Regions from separate parts of the Homo sapiens genome. Here region 2 is linked to region 1. The links are contacts of gene promoters, found by promoter capture Hi-C in human tissues and cell types (Jung and others, 2019). All regions are on one chromosome and are shown on one strand. Each heading gives the region's core, a stretch centred on a gene start or on the middle of the fragment in contact. The rest is flanking DNA. Distances are from core to core; before and after follow the strand shown.

Region 1 (6,116 bases), core at 165-2,664:
CAGTAGATTACTAAGCTCCTTAGTTATAGAACATTCAATGCATAGGAAAGTGTTTTTCCTACAAAGCATAACTGAAATGTAGTTTAACTAATGGTTTACAATTCAGTCAAATACCAAAGCTGCAAACCATTTAGGGAGTCATCAATTACATATTTTGTACACTTTCAAAAAGCTTACAGCTGGGATGGGTTGTTTATTTTCAAAGCATGACTGCTTTAAAATGATCATATTCTTTAGCCTGCCACCTAGGAAGCATTAAGCATTTACTTGCAGAATGAACAAACGAGCACGTTGTCTTGTGTTATGAAGTATATAATATAGTTCGTTTTAGTTTCTTCATTCGCAGACTATCAGGCTCATTTCACGTGACTGCTTGCACTTAGAACTGAGTTATCACGGAGTAGGAACTCTCCAACATCGTCGTCATAGACCAAGAGATGCCCATGAACAGCCATGAAAGTGCCAGTCAGGGAAGTATTCAGTGCTTTGTTGTAGAGTTGTTGGATAGAGGCACAGGATCATTTCATGTTGTTGAGGAGAAAGGAGCAACAGCCTCCTCCCACCTTATTAAAAATAGAGATTTAAAAAAACCTCTAATTTCCTCGAAGTACAGAATCTCAAGAGGTAGCTCTAAGGAGAATCCCTCTGGGTTTGAGCGCATTCCTCTTCCAGGGGGCCTATTCTTGGACTGCTTTCCTTAATAGAGAAATCTCTCTGAGCCAAAATCGGCCTCCCCCAATTCCATCCTGTCGGCCCCACTTTTCTGCTTCGGAGACTTCCAAGCCAGTCCCCACTCCTCCTTCAGCCAGTCGGGCCCGCACCCGCGCCCGGCAGGGCCAGCCCTCTCCTCCTCCTGCGTGGCGCAGCACAGGCCCTGAGCGCGCGACCCCAGGCCCTGGGCGCCCCGCCGCATGCTCGCGGCTGGAAGCCCCAGTTTGCGTGGCCCTTCGGGTTATTCCGCTCAAGAGCCGCCGCGTCGCCCCATCTCGGCGCGAATCTGAAAGCGCTTTCGGGGGAGAAGATGTTGGGGGCACTGGTGAGTACACTGCACAAGTGACAAAATGTTTTCAGCTCCTGGAGGCGAAAGGTGCAGAGTCGCTCTGTGTCCGTGAGGCCGGGCGGCGACCTCGCTCAGTCGGCTTCTCGGTCCGAGTCCCCGGGTACGAGGAAAGACCACAGGGGGCTTCTCGCGGAAAAGCGGGCCGCGGACCCTGCGCGGGCTGGCTGGGGCGGGCGGATGACGAGGCGCAGGGGCAAGGGTGGGTCTGCGAGGCGGCGGGTCCGGGCGTCTTAGGCTCCGGGGCTCCCTCGCTGGCGGCGGAGCAGGGATGGCGCGCCCGGGGGTGAGGGTGCGGCGGGTCACAAGCACTCGCAGCCCGCGGCGCAGCAACCCGGCAGGCACACGCACACGTGCACGCGCGCCCCGCACCCGCCCCCCGTGCGGCCCCCGGCTCGGGGCGGCGGCGGCGGCGGGGGCCGGGGGCGCGCGGGCCGGCGCCGGGCTGGGCCCCGGGGACCCCGCGGGCGGCGGGCAGGCGGGGAGGGCGCTCTGGGGCCCGCCCGCGCGGCTCCCATCCTCCGGGCCGGCCTCTGGCTCCGCGGGGCGAGGGGAGGCGCCCGCCGGCTCCGGGCGCCGCGGGCGGGACACGGGCGCGGGGCGCAGGCGGGCTCCTCCGGCGCGTGCGGACGCTGAGCGTGGCCTGTCCCTCAGGTCTGGATGCTGGTAGCCGGCTTCCTGCTGGCGCTGCCGCCGAGCTGGGCCGCGGGCGCCCCGAGGGCGGGCAGGCGCCCCGCGCGGCCGCGGGGCTGCGCGGACCGGCCGGAGGAGCTACTGGAGCAGCTGTACGGGCGCCTGGCGGCCGGCGTGCTCAGTGCCTTCCACCACACGCTGCAGCTGGGGCCGCGTGAGCAGGCGCGCAACGCGAGCTGCCCGGCAGGGGGCAGGCCCGCCGACCGCCGCTTCCGGCCGCCCACCAACCTGCGCAGCGTGTCGCCCTGGGCCTACAGGTGAGCCGCGGGCGCGTCCTGGCGGGGCCCGGCAGGTGGGGAGGGCAGGGCTGGGCGGGGAGAGTGGGTGGGGCCGGGCCGAGGCCGGGCAGGCGGGGAGGGTGGGGCGGGGAAGGGGAGGTGGTTGGGGCGGGGCGACGCGGAGGGGGCGTGGCACGCGGGGCGAGGCGGAGCAGGTAGGGGTGGGGTGGTGCGGGGCGAGACAGGGTAGGGTACGGTAGGGTGGGGTGGGGTGCGAGGGGCGCTGCGATGAGGCGGGGTGGGGCGGGGCAGTTGGAGCACTGGGGGGCAATTCCTAAACTGCGAAGGCCCACCCCCACCACCTCCCTTGAAGGAGTCCTGCTTCCTCTCTTTACCCTCCAGTATTTCCTATGCAACACGTATCTCTTGAACACCTCATCTCCTCCAGGTTGGATGGGTCCGCAAGGCACTAGCTGGGGACCCTTCCGTGATGTGGACACAGTGATGTGGACCGTACTCTGCACAGGGGGCCCGGGGAGGTGCTGCTGGGGGGTGCGCGGTACTATCCACATATTTCCTGAGTGCCCCTGTGGTCCAGAGGCTGCTGGAGTGGAGCCCTGGGAAGCGCCCTCTGAGCCCCTCTAGTTTAATAGCCTAAGGAAGGAGTGGGGATAATTGGGAAAGAAACCACACCATCAGGCAGTGCATGAAGTGACATGAACAGTTTCGAGAGTATTTTGGTCTTGGAACAGAGGTCATTTCAGAAGAAAGGGACAGCCTGCAGAAGGGGAAGGCTGGAGAAGTTGGGGGCGTGTAGGCAGGGTGCCGCAGTGTCCTCAGCAGGCACCTGTGACCGTCTTCCCTCTAGCTGGAGCAGGAGGAGCTGCCCTAGGGGGCAAGGCCTCCCAGGGCCACAGAGGTCAAGAAAGGCTTCGTGAAAGAGCTGAGTCTTGATGGAGGAGAGCAAGTCGCCTACAAAGGCAGTGCTGAGGGAAGGGACAGCTGATAGCAAGCGGGAACAAAGCGCTTGGAAAATGGGGAGAGCCACAAGGCGAGCGGGGGCGGTGGGGGTGGGGGGGCGTAGGCGAGGTGTTTGCCTGTGGGGTGGGCATCGATGTAAGGCTGGAGACAGGTGCAGGAGCTGGATCCCCGCCTTGTCAGCAGTGCAGAGCTTCACCCTCACGCCTGGAATCCCAGCACTTTGGGAGGCCGAGGCAGGAGGATTTAAGTCCAGGAGTTCGAGACCAGCCTGGGAAACATAGCGAGATCCCATTTCTGCAAACAATTTTTAAGGATTAGCGAAGTGTGGTGGCACGTGCCTGTGGTCCCAGCTACTCCAGAGGCTTAAGTGGGAGGATAGATTGAGCCCGGGAGGTTCAGGCTGCAGTGAGCTGTGGTGGCGCCACTGCCTTCCAACCTGCGTGACAAAGCGAGACCCCGTCTCTAAAATAAAAATTAAAGAGAAAAAAAGTCTTGACACTTGAGATGGAGGAAGCCATACAGCCACTCTGGTTTAGGAGGGTGTCCCAATGGGGCATGGATTGGACAATGCTCTCCAGCACTTCCATCCAAAGGATCTAGGGCTTCACTCAGGCAGCGCGGTGGGAAGGGGAGACTAGGATCAGCGTGAAAGATGCTCATTAAAGAAGACAAGTGCTGTGGAGAGTCAGAGGAAATGTGATGATTTTGTCTAAAACGCATCTGGGCTTTCCTGGAGCCTCTCCCTGCCGGCTGCTGGGTAGGGAGATTTCCTTTTACTCAACAACACACAGGACCCCTATGCTGTCCTGGGAAGCCAAGTTTTAGGGCCTCCTGCCTCCTGGCTACTCTGCAGAGGACCAAGCTCACTGTGGCAGAGCCCCCTCAGAGCCCCTGCCCACGGGGAAGTTGGGTGGGACCCCTCCCGCCCTTCTCACTCCTGTCCTTCAGCTGGAGCCTGCAGGGCACACACATGGCGCCATTCATTCTGGTATCTTGGTGCTCTTGCTTTTCCTCTCTCTTCCTCCATTTCCAGGACCTGAAGGGATGGACTACGGCATTCTTCTTTCTCTAACCTCGTGTTATGCTTCTGATATACCAAATAGGATTAAAGCCACATAAGGAATCTCTCAGAACCAGAGATTAACTTCTCTGGACAGAAGCTGCTGGCCCTGCTTTCTATAGCAGATTCGAACTCTCAGGCAAACCCGTGGCTCCCCACAGGCTGGGCCAAGGGCCTAAGAGTAGTATATAGCCTCCCAAAGGCATGTCTCTCATGTTTCTGGCTTGGGTTGTTGATGGTATTTGAGCAAAATGAGAAAATACACTTAGGAACAAGTGTTGTGGGAGGAAATAATGAATTTAGTAACAAGCCTGTTGAGTTTTGCCTGCCTGAAAGGCGTACAGGTGACAATGACTGGTTGGAGCTCAGGAGACAGAGCAGGGCTGGAGGACACATGGAGAGTTAGCAGCACTGGCATTCTGTGTGTGGGAAGTTAAATTGAGTTGCCCTTGCTACAGATGACACCTATGTCGCCCCAGGCAGGATCTGGGAGCCGAGGGAGGTTATGGATGAGAATGACACACAGGGTTCGGGGATCGTGGTCTGGGCCACCCAGATCTGCCCACATGTGGAACCTCAGTGCTGGGTGGTCCCAGGAGCAGGAGTGGCAGCTGCAGCAGGGTGGCTGAAGGTGTCATGTGCATCATTTTTCATATTATTTAGCAACAGTGATGAGATCACTCCCCATGGGCAAACGGAGGTGGGTGGCTTATATTTGCTGAAGGAAGGACAGTCTTCAGGGGATGGCTGCTGGGCTGGGACTCCAGATTGCTGACTGCCAAAGCTGCTCCTGCATTTTCCTGCCAGGAGAGCCCTCTCTGCCCTCCTCCCTCCAATCACCTCTCACCATCTTTTGGGTTATTGGGAAGATTAGAAAAAGTGAGACCCAGCCAGGCCCAGTGGCTCACCTGTAAATCCCCGGCTACTCAGGAGGCGGAGGTGGGAGGATCACTTGAGCCCAGGAGTTTGAGACCAGCCTGGGCAACATAGTATGAGACTTATCACTACAAAAAAAACAGCCAGGTGTGGTCATGTTTGCCTGTGGTCCCAGCTACTTGGGAAGTTTGAGCCAGGGAGGCTGAGGCTGTAGTGAACTATGATTGTGCCTCTGCACTCCGGCCTGGGCAACAGAGTGAGAACTTGTCTCAAAAAAAAAAAAAAAAAAAAAAAAAGGAAAAGAAATAGTGAGCCAATGGAAGTGTGGAGCCTCTACTAAAAGATGTTGTGGAAGGACAGGTTTTTTCTTTTAGACAGAATCTCGCTCTGCCACCCAGCCTGGAGTGCAGTGACACAGACAGATCAATGCAGCCTTGACCTTCTAGGCTCAAGGGATCCTCCTACCTCAGCCTCCCATGTAGCTGAGACCACAGGTGCGCACCACCACATGCAGCTAGTTTTTTTGTTTTGTTTTTTAGAGATGGGGGCCTCACTTTGTTGCCCAGGTTCGTCTTGAAGTCCTGGGCTCCAGTGACCCTCCTGTCTCAGCCTCTCATAGTGCTGGGATTACAGGCGTAAGCCATGGTGCCAGGCCAGGGCTTGTTCCTTGGTGGAGTGTCTGAGGGTGGGGCCTGGGTAGAGGAGTGCCCACCTGCAGGCTGGGCACAGGGTCAGGTGGTATTTCTTTCTTTCTTTCTTTTGAGACAGGGTTTTGCTCTGTCACCCAGGCTGGAATGCAGTGGCATGATCTTGGCAGACTACAACCTCCATCTCCTGGGTTCAAGCAATTCTCCTGTCTCAGCTTCTGGAGTAGCTGGGATTACAGGTGCATGCCACCACGCCCAGCTAATTTTTGTATTTTTAGTAGAGACAGGGTTTCGCCATGTTGGCCAGGCTGGTCTCGAACTCCTGGCCTCAAGTGATCTGCCTGCCTTGGCTTCCTAAAGTGCTGGGATTACAGGCCCAAGCCACCACGCCCTAAAGGCACAGCAGTCAGAGAGAATGCTGAGAAAGACAGATAGGGAGATGGACTGAACGTCAGGAGTACTGATGGGCACAGCAAGGATCACTTTAGGTGGATAAGTTTTACAATAGGCATTTGGAAGGTGGCTTTCCATACGGATGGAATGGAGACCTGGGTCATTCAGTAAATGGTGTTGGGACAGCCTGG
Region 2 (6,159 bases), core at 2,613-5,112, 57 kb before region 1:
CATAGGGAGCAAGAGTGTTACCTCCACAGTACTGCTGCATTCCATCTCCACCCCTGAGATATCCAGAGGAAACAGTATACAATAGCACATTACTGTAGGCTAAGAAATATTGTTACTGTAATGTTTTTTAAGTTTGCTTATTGCTTAATGAATTTAGAAAACATGTTTTCCTTAACTGACATTGCATAAGATATGAATTAATGGAAAATCCCAGTCAAGCTATTGAATGGCTAATGCAGGTGGTCAGTGTTATTCCAACCGATCCTCAAGTTTTATCTAAGCTAGGAGAATTATATGATCGTGAAGGAGATAAATCTCAAGCATTTCAATATTACTATGAGGTAGGTGTGTTATCTTAATTTCCTTCTGTGTTTTAGCATTTTATGAATTGTTATAAAGAAGGCAGCAAGGCTTTAAAATTTTAGAAGATCTTACCAGTTTTAAAATGATTTATTTAAAATAAAGCATTCTTGGAAAATGAAGTTAGTTTTTGTTTTGTTTTGTTTTGAGATAGAGTCTTGCTCTGTCGCCCAGGCTGCTGCACAGTGGTGCAGTCTCGGCTCACTGCAGCCTCCTCCTCCTGGGTTTAAGCAATTCTCTTGCCTCAGCCTTCCGAGTAGCTGGGATTACAGGCGCCTGCCACCACGTGCAGCTAATTTTTGTATTTTTAGTAGAGGGGTGTTTTGCCATCTTGGCCAGGCCAGTCTCGAACTCCTGACCTCAGGTGATCTGCCTGCCTCAGCCTCCCAAAGTGCTGGGATTACTACCACGCCAGGCCTGAAGTTAGTTTTTTACTTGTTTTAATGAAAAAATGAAATAGGGCTGGGCATGGTGGCTCACGTCTATAATCCCAGCACTTTGGGAGACCAGAGTGAGAGGATTGCTTAAGACCAAGAGATGAAGAACAGCCTAGGCAACATAACAAGACCCCATCTCTACAAATAATAATAAAAGGACAGTCCTGGTGGCCCATACCTTTAATCCCAGCACTTTGGGAGGCCAAGGAAGGCAGATTACTTGAGGCCAGGAGTATGTGACCAGCCTGGCCAACATGAGGAAACCCCCTCTCTACTAAAAACACAAAAATTAGCCAAATGTGGTTGTGGCATGCCTGTAATCCTAGCTACTTAGGAGACTAAGGCACGAGAATTGCCTGAACCTGGGAGGCAGAGGTTGTAGTGAGCCAAGATCGCATTTACTACACTCCAGGCTGGGTGACAGAGCGAGACTGTCTTAAAATAATAATAATTAATAATATTAATAATAAAAAGAAGTACCAGTTCATTTTTCTCTTGAGGCACGATTTGCATCTCTTTTTTATTCTTTTAAATATTTAAATTGGACTCAGCTCATATATTGTTATATCAAAAGTATAGATAATTGAAAAGTGTGTCAAGCAAAGCTTAGGTTTTCTAAATATTATATAGTTTCAGAATTTACAAAGTACTTAGGACAGTTCATACTCCTTTATTAAGAAATTCCATATTGGATAAATTTATTCAATAGGTAAAGTATTCAAGAAGTAAATTATATGTTGCCATTGAAGTTGTATTGTTACATTCCATATTTGTTTTACAGTCATATAGGTATTTTCCTTGTAATATTGAAGTCATTGAGTGGCTTGGAGCCTATTACATTGACACCCAATTTTGGGAAAAAGCTATTCAGTACTTTGAAAGAGCTTCTCTTATACAGTAAGTAATCATTAGGATTTTATGTTTAGTTAATGTCATGTCTTGAGTTTTTTTAATCCCTAGAATTAGTATCTGATAGACCTAGTAAATTCAAGAACAGATGTTGATGGACATTCATAAATTATTTTTGTTTGTTTGTTGTTTGTTTGAGACGGAGTTTCGCTCTTGTTGCCCAGGTTGAAGTGCAATGGCGTGATCTCGGCTCACTGCAACCTCCGCCTCCCAGGTTCAAGCGATTCTCCTGCCTCAGCCTCCCGAGTAGCTGGGATTACAGTCACGCACCACCATGCCTGGCTAATTTTTTGTATTTAAGTAAAGACAGGGTTACACCATGTTGGCCAGGCTGGTCTCGAACTCCTGACCTCAGGTGATCCACCTGCCTCAGCCTCCCAAAGTGCTGGGATTACAGGCATGAGCCACCGCGCCCAGCCAAATTATTTTTATTTTCTTATATTTTATTCCATTTTACTTGGTCTTTATTGTGATAAATATATTTCCCTTTGCATAGAATTTTTTAAATATCCTCTTTAAGATACTTTTCTTTATGTATTTTTCTTACACCTCAGCAAACAATTATTGTTCCTTTATCAATCAGAAAATGACTTATCTCAGTCCTAGGACAAAGTTTCATCTCTAAAAGAGTCTTAATACAAGACAGTTTTGTTGGTTTCAATTTATAATTAATATATATGAAAAATTAAAATGTTTTCAGTGTCTTTAAGTTCGTATCAGAATGTGTTATACATATCTGATTCAAAACAATTCAAAAATAATTGGAATACATCATCTTCTGCTTTGTATTTGGCCATATTGAATTTTAAGAACAAATGCCCCTTAGAATAATTTGAATGATAAAGAAATGCTTAATAAGTGAAATGATTTCTGTTTGGAATTTCTATTAGGCAATTCATTTTGTGATATTTATTTCACATAAATTTCTTTTGAGAATTATAAAATTAATTACCAAGGATGAGGAGATAGTTTTAGTTTAATTATATCTTTAAGATTAAAGCTATTTCAGTAATACACTGTAAGCTTTTTAATTACACTTAATACTACTCTAACATTAGCCATTAGCTCATGCAACACTCTTCCTTCTTTGAGGCTCAGTCCGCCACTGTTCCATTTTTAACTCCTATTTGTAAATGTCAGATGTTGATTAACAGTCAGTCCCTTACCTTACCTAGTCTAGCTTATATTCTTCCTTTTCTTTCCATCACTATTCTAGTCCCACAAGTTTTGACCTCCCTAACTCCATTGATCTTTACCCTCTCTGTAGTTCAGTCACCTGACTCATCTGATTGTGATTATCACTAACACATTTACACCAATAAAATCTTTTTTTTTTTTTTTTTGAGACAGAGGACGGAGTCTTGCTTTGTCGCCCAGGCTGGAGTGCAGTGGCGTGATCCCGGCTCACTGCAACCTCTGCTTCCCAGGTTTAAGCGATTCTCCTGCCTCAGCCTCCAGAGTAGCTGGGATTACAGGCACATGCCACTGCACCCGGCTAATTTTTGTTTTTGTTTTTGTTTTTGTTTTAGTAGAAACGGAGTTTCACCATGTTGGTGAGGCTGGTCTTGAACTCCTGACCTCAAGTGATCCATTCGCCTCAGCCTCCCAAAGTGCTGGGATTACAGGCGTGAGACACCACGCCCAGCCTACACCAATAAAATCTTAAGTTACAATGTCCAGCTGTCTGAACATAACCTCTTACCTTTCCAACTTCCATACTCCCTATTTTCCAGTGCATTTTTCTTTGGTGATATTGAGACCTCCCCTCTTGACCTTCCCCTTATCTTGCAGTCTCAGCCTCCTTCTGACTTTAATTCTGAGCTTATCCATACTAGATTGCTTAATTGGTCACATCTTTTCCCTTTCTTGCTAACATTCCTGTTTTTTTTTTTCTCTCTCTCTCTCGCTTTACTACCCCATTTATTCCAAGAGATTTCAGTTCTTAGGTTATTCCAGCCATTGATTCCATTCCTTTACACAGGCTGTGAAATACTGTCAAAGGTAAATTATGTAACCAGGTGAATTGATGCTACACAAATCTGTGTGATATGAGCACTGCTCATCAGTCTTAAGTATTTCTCTCCCTCCTGTTTCTCTGATCTCTTCAATTCCCCTATGTATTTTATGCCTCGGTTTCCCAGAATATAGAAGCCTTTTTTAGAAACCTTCCTAACATTTCTCTCTACTTTTCTATAAACTTACTTCCACTTGCACCTGCTGTTATCTCCTTCTCAGTGACAGAAACTTATTCAATATACATTCATTATATTACATCTCTTTTGAGCATTTGTTTTCTATACCATATATCTTAATTTTTCACATTTTCTCTTTTTTACATGCTAAGCTTTGATTTGTTCTGTAAGTTCTACCTCTACAATAAAAATGTAGGCTTTTTGAGAAGTGAGAGTATTAGTTCTTATGTCACATAGTTCTTTACATATTCTTTAAATATTCTTTACATGTCAACTTGGCATATAGTTGAATTAAATTAAATTTCTTTACCATAGAAACTCCTTGCCTTGCTGTATCTCTTAGATTTTTATGGTTTTTAATAATATGATGTTTTGGCAATTGGTTTAAGCATAAACTGTTGTTTTATTTTCTTTACATTCATAAATCATGTCTTAAAATATCAAGAAACCCTAGTTCTGACTGGTCCACTTAATGTAATTCCATTCTTCAGCAGCATTAGGTAATGTTCTTTAATATTGATTGTGATGATGGTTATTATAAGACACCATCAAGTGGACCAATATATGCATTATGGGAATTCCAAAAGGGGAAGAGAGAGGAAAAGGGAGGAGAGAGACTATTTGAAGAAATTATTGCCATACTTCCCAAATTTGAGGAAAGACATGAATCCAGAAGTCTGCACAGGCCAGTGAATTCTATGTAGGAAAAACACTAAAAGATCCACAATGAGACACATTATGATCAAACTGTCCAAAAACAAAGAGAGAATCTCGACAGCAACAAGAGAAAAGTGGCTTATCACATACAGGGACCCTCAGTAAGATTATTAGTAGATTTCTCACCAGAAACCTTGGAGGCCAGAAAGCAATGGAATGATGTAAAGTCCTGAAATTTAAAAGCAAACAAACAAACAAACAAAACACAAACTGTCAACCAAGGATTCTGTATCCTGGCCAAGCGTGATGGCTTATACCTGTAATCCCAGCACTTTGGAGGCCCAGGCAGGCAGATCACCTGAGGTCAGGAGTTCAAGACCAGCCTGTCCATCATGGCCAAGCTCTGTCTCTACTGAAAATACAAAAATTAGCTGGGTGTGGTGGCAGGTGCCTATAGTCCCAGCTACTCAGGAGGCTGAGGCATGAGAATCGCTTGAACCCGGGAGGCGGAGGTTGCAGTGAGCAGAGATCGCACCACTGCACTCCAGCCTGGGTGACAGAGCGAGACTCCATCTCAATAAGTAAATAAATAAATAAAATAAGTTTGTATTGTTCAAGTGAGATTGTTATAAGTTTCAGATGTTAATTATAATACCCAAGGTAATCATTAGGAAAATAACTAAGAAATCAAATAGTACACTATAAAAAAGTATTAGGAAAATAACTAAAAATCGAAATAGTACACTAAAAAAAATCAACAAAATACCAAAAAAGAGTAGTAATGGAAGAATTGAGGAAGAAAAAACATATAACACATGCAGAAAACAAATAGCAGAAGCAAATCCTTCTGTGTCAATAATCACATTAAATATAAATTTATTAAACTTTCCCATTAAAAGAAAAACTTAGCAGATTGAATAAGAAAATCAGGGTCTATTTATATACTGTCTACAAGAGATGCACTTTAGATACAAGGACACAAAAGAGGTTGAAAGCAAAAGGATTGAAAAAGATATTCCAAACAAATATTAATGGTAACCAGAAGAGAGTTGGGAGGCTTTATTATTGTCAGACAAAACAGGCTTTAAGTCACAAAAGGTTACAAGAGCCAAAGAATGATGCTATATATTGGTAAAAGGTTCGTTACTGCAAGAATGTACAACACTTAAAAACCCAACAGAGGAGCCCCAAAATATATGAAGCAAAAATTGATATAATTAAAGGGTGAAATAGACCTCATATTAGTTTGAGACTTAATACTTTTAAAAATGTGTGTTACCGTCTGTGAACCTCACACGGAAGATAAATAAGAAAATTAAGACTTAAGCAATGTATAAACCAGGTAGACCTAACAGTCATACACAAGACACTGAACCCAACAACAGGAGATTGTACATTCTTAAGTGTACATGGAACGTTCTCCAGGATAAACCATAGGTTAGGCCACAACTTAATAAATTGAAAAGATTGAACTCATACAAATTATCTTTTTCTGTCATAATGTAATGAAACTAGAAATTAATAACAGAAGGAAAACTGGAAAATTCACAAGTATGTGGAATTAAAGAACACACTCTTAACTAGTGGATCAAATATGAAATCAC

What was found. The method cuts DNA at HindIII sites, captures the fragments that hold promoters and counts their contacts. A contact is called where the count stands out against the background at its distance.
Region 2: a contact is called between a fragment that was not itself captured here and the fragment with the promoter of IL17D in region 1, in 1 of the 25 tissues and cell types used here (liver).

Annotation. Positions count from the first base shown.
Region 1 is chr13:20,702,285-20,708,400 of GRCh38, forward strand. IL17D (interleukin 17D) reads left to right here and starts at 1,415. Exons shown (of 2, transcript NM_001385224.1): 1 at 1,415-2,007. The coding sequence starts at 1,718. RefSeq lists silencers at 797-876, 1,297-1,436, 1,727-2,236. The HindIII fragment of the contact is 9,244 bases long and covers 1-3,854 here.
Region 2 is chr13:20,643,265-20,649,423 of GRCh38, forward strand. IFT88 (intraflagellar transport 88) reads left to right here. Exons shown (of 26, transcript NM_006531.5): 19 at 191-341; 20 at 1,579-1,694. Among named protein-coding and RNA genes, the nearest start is that of IL17D, 57 kb to the right of the region's middle. The HindIII fragment of the contact is 3,594 bases long and covers 2,066-5,659 here.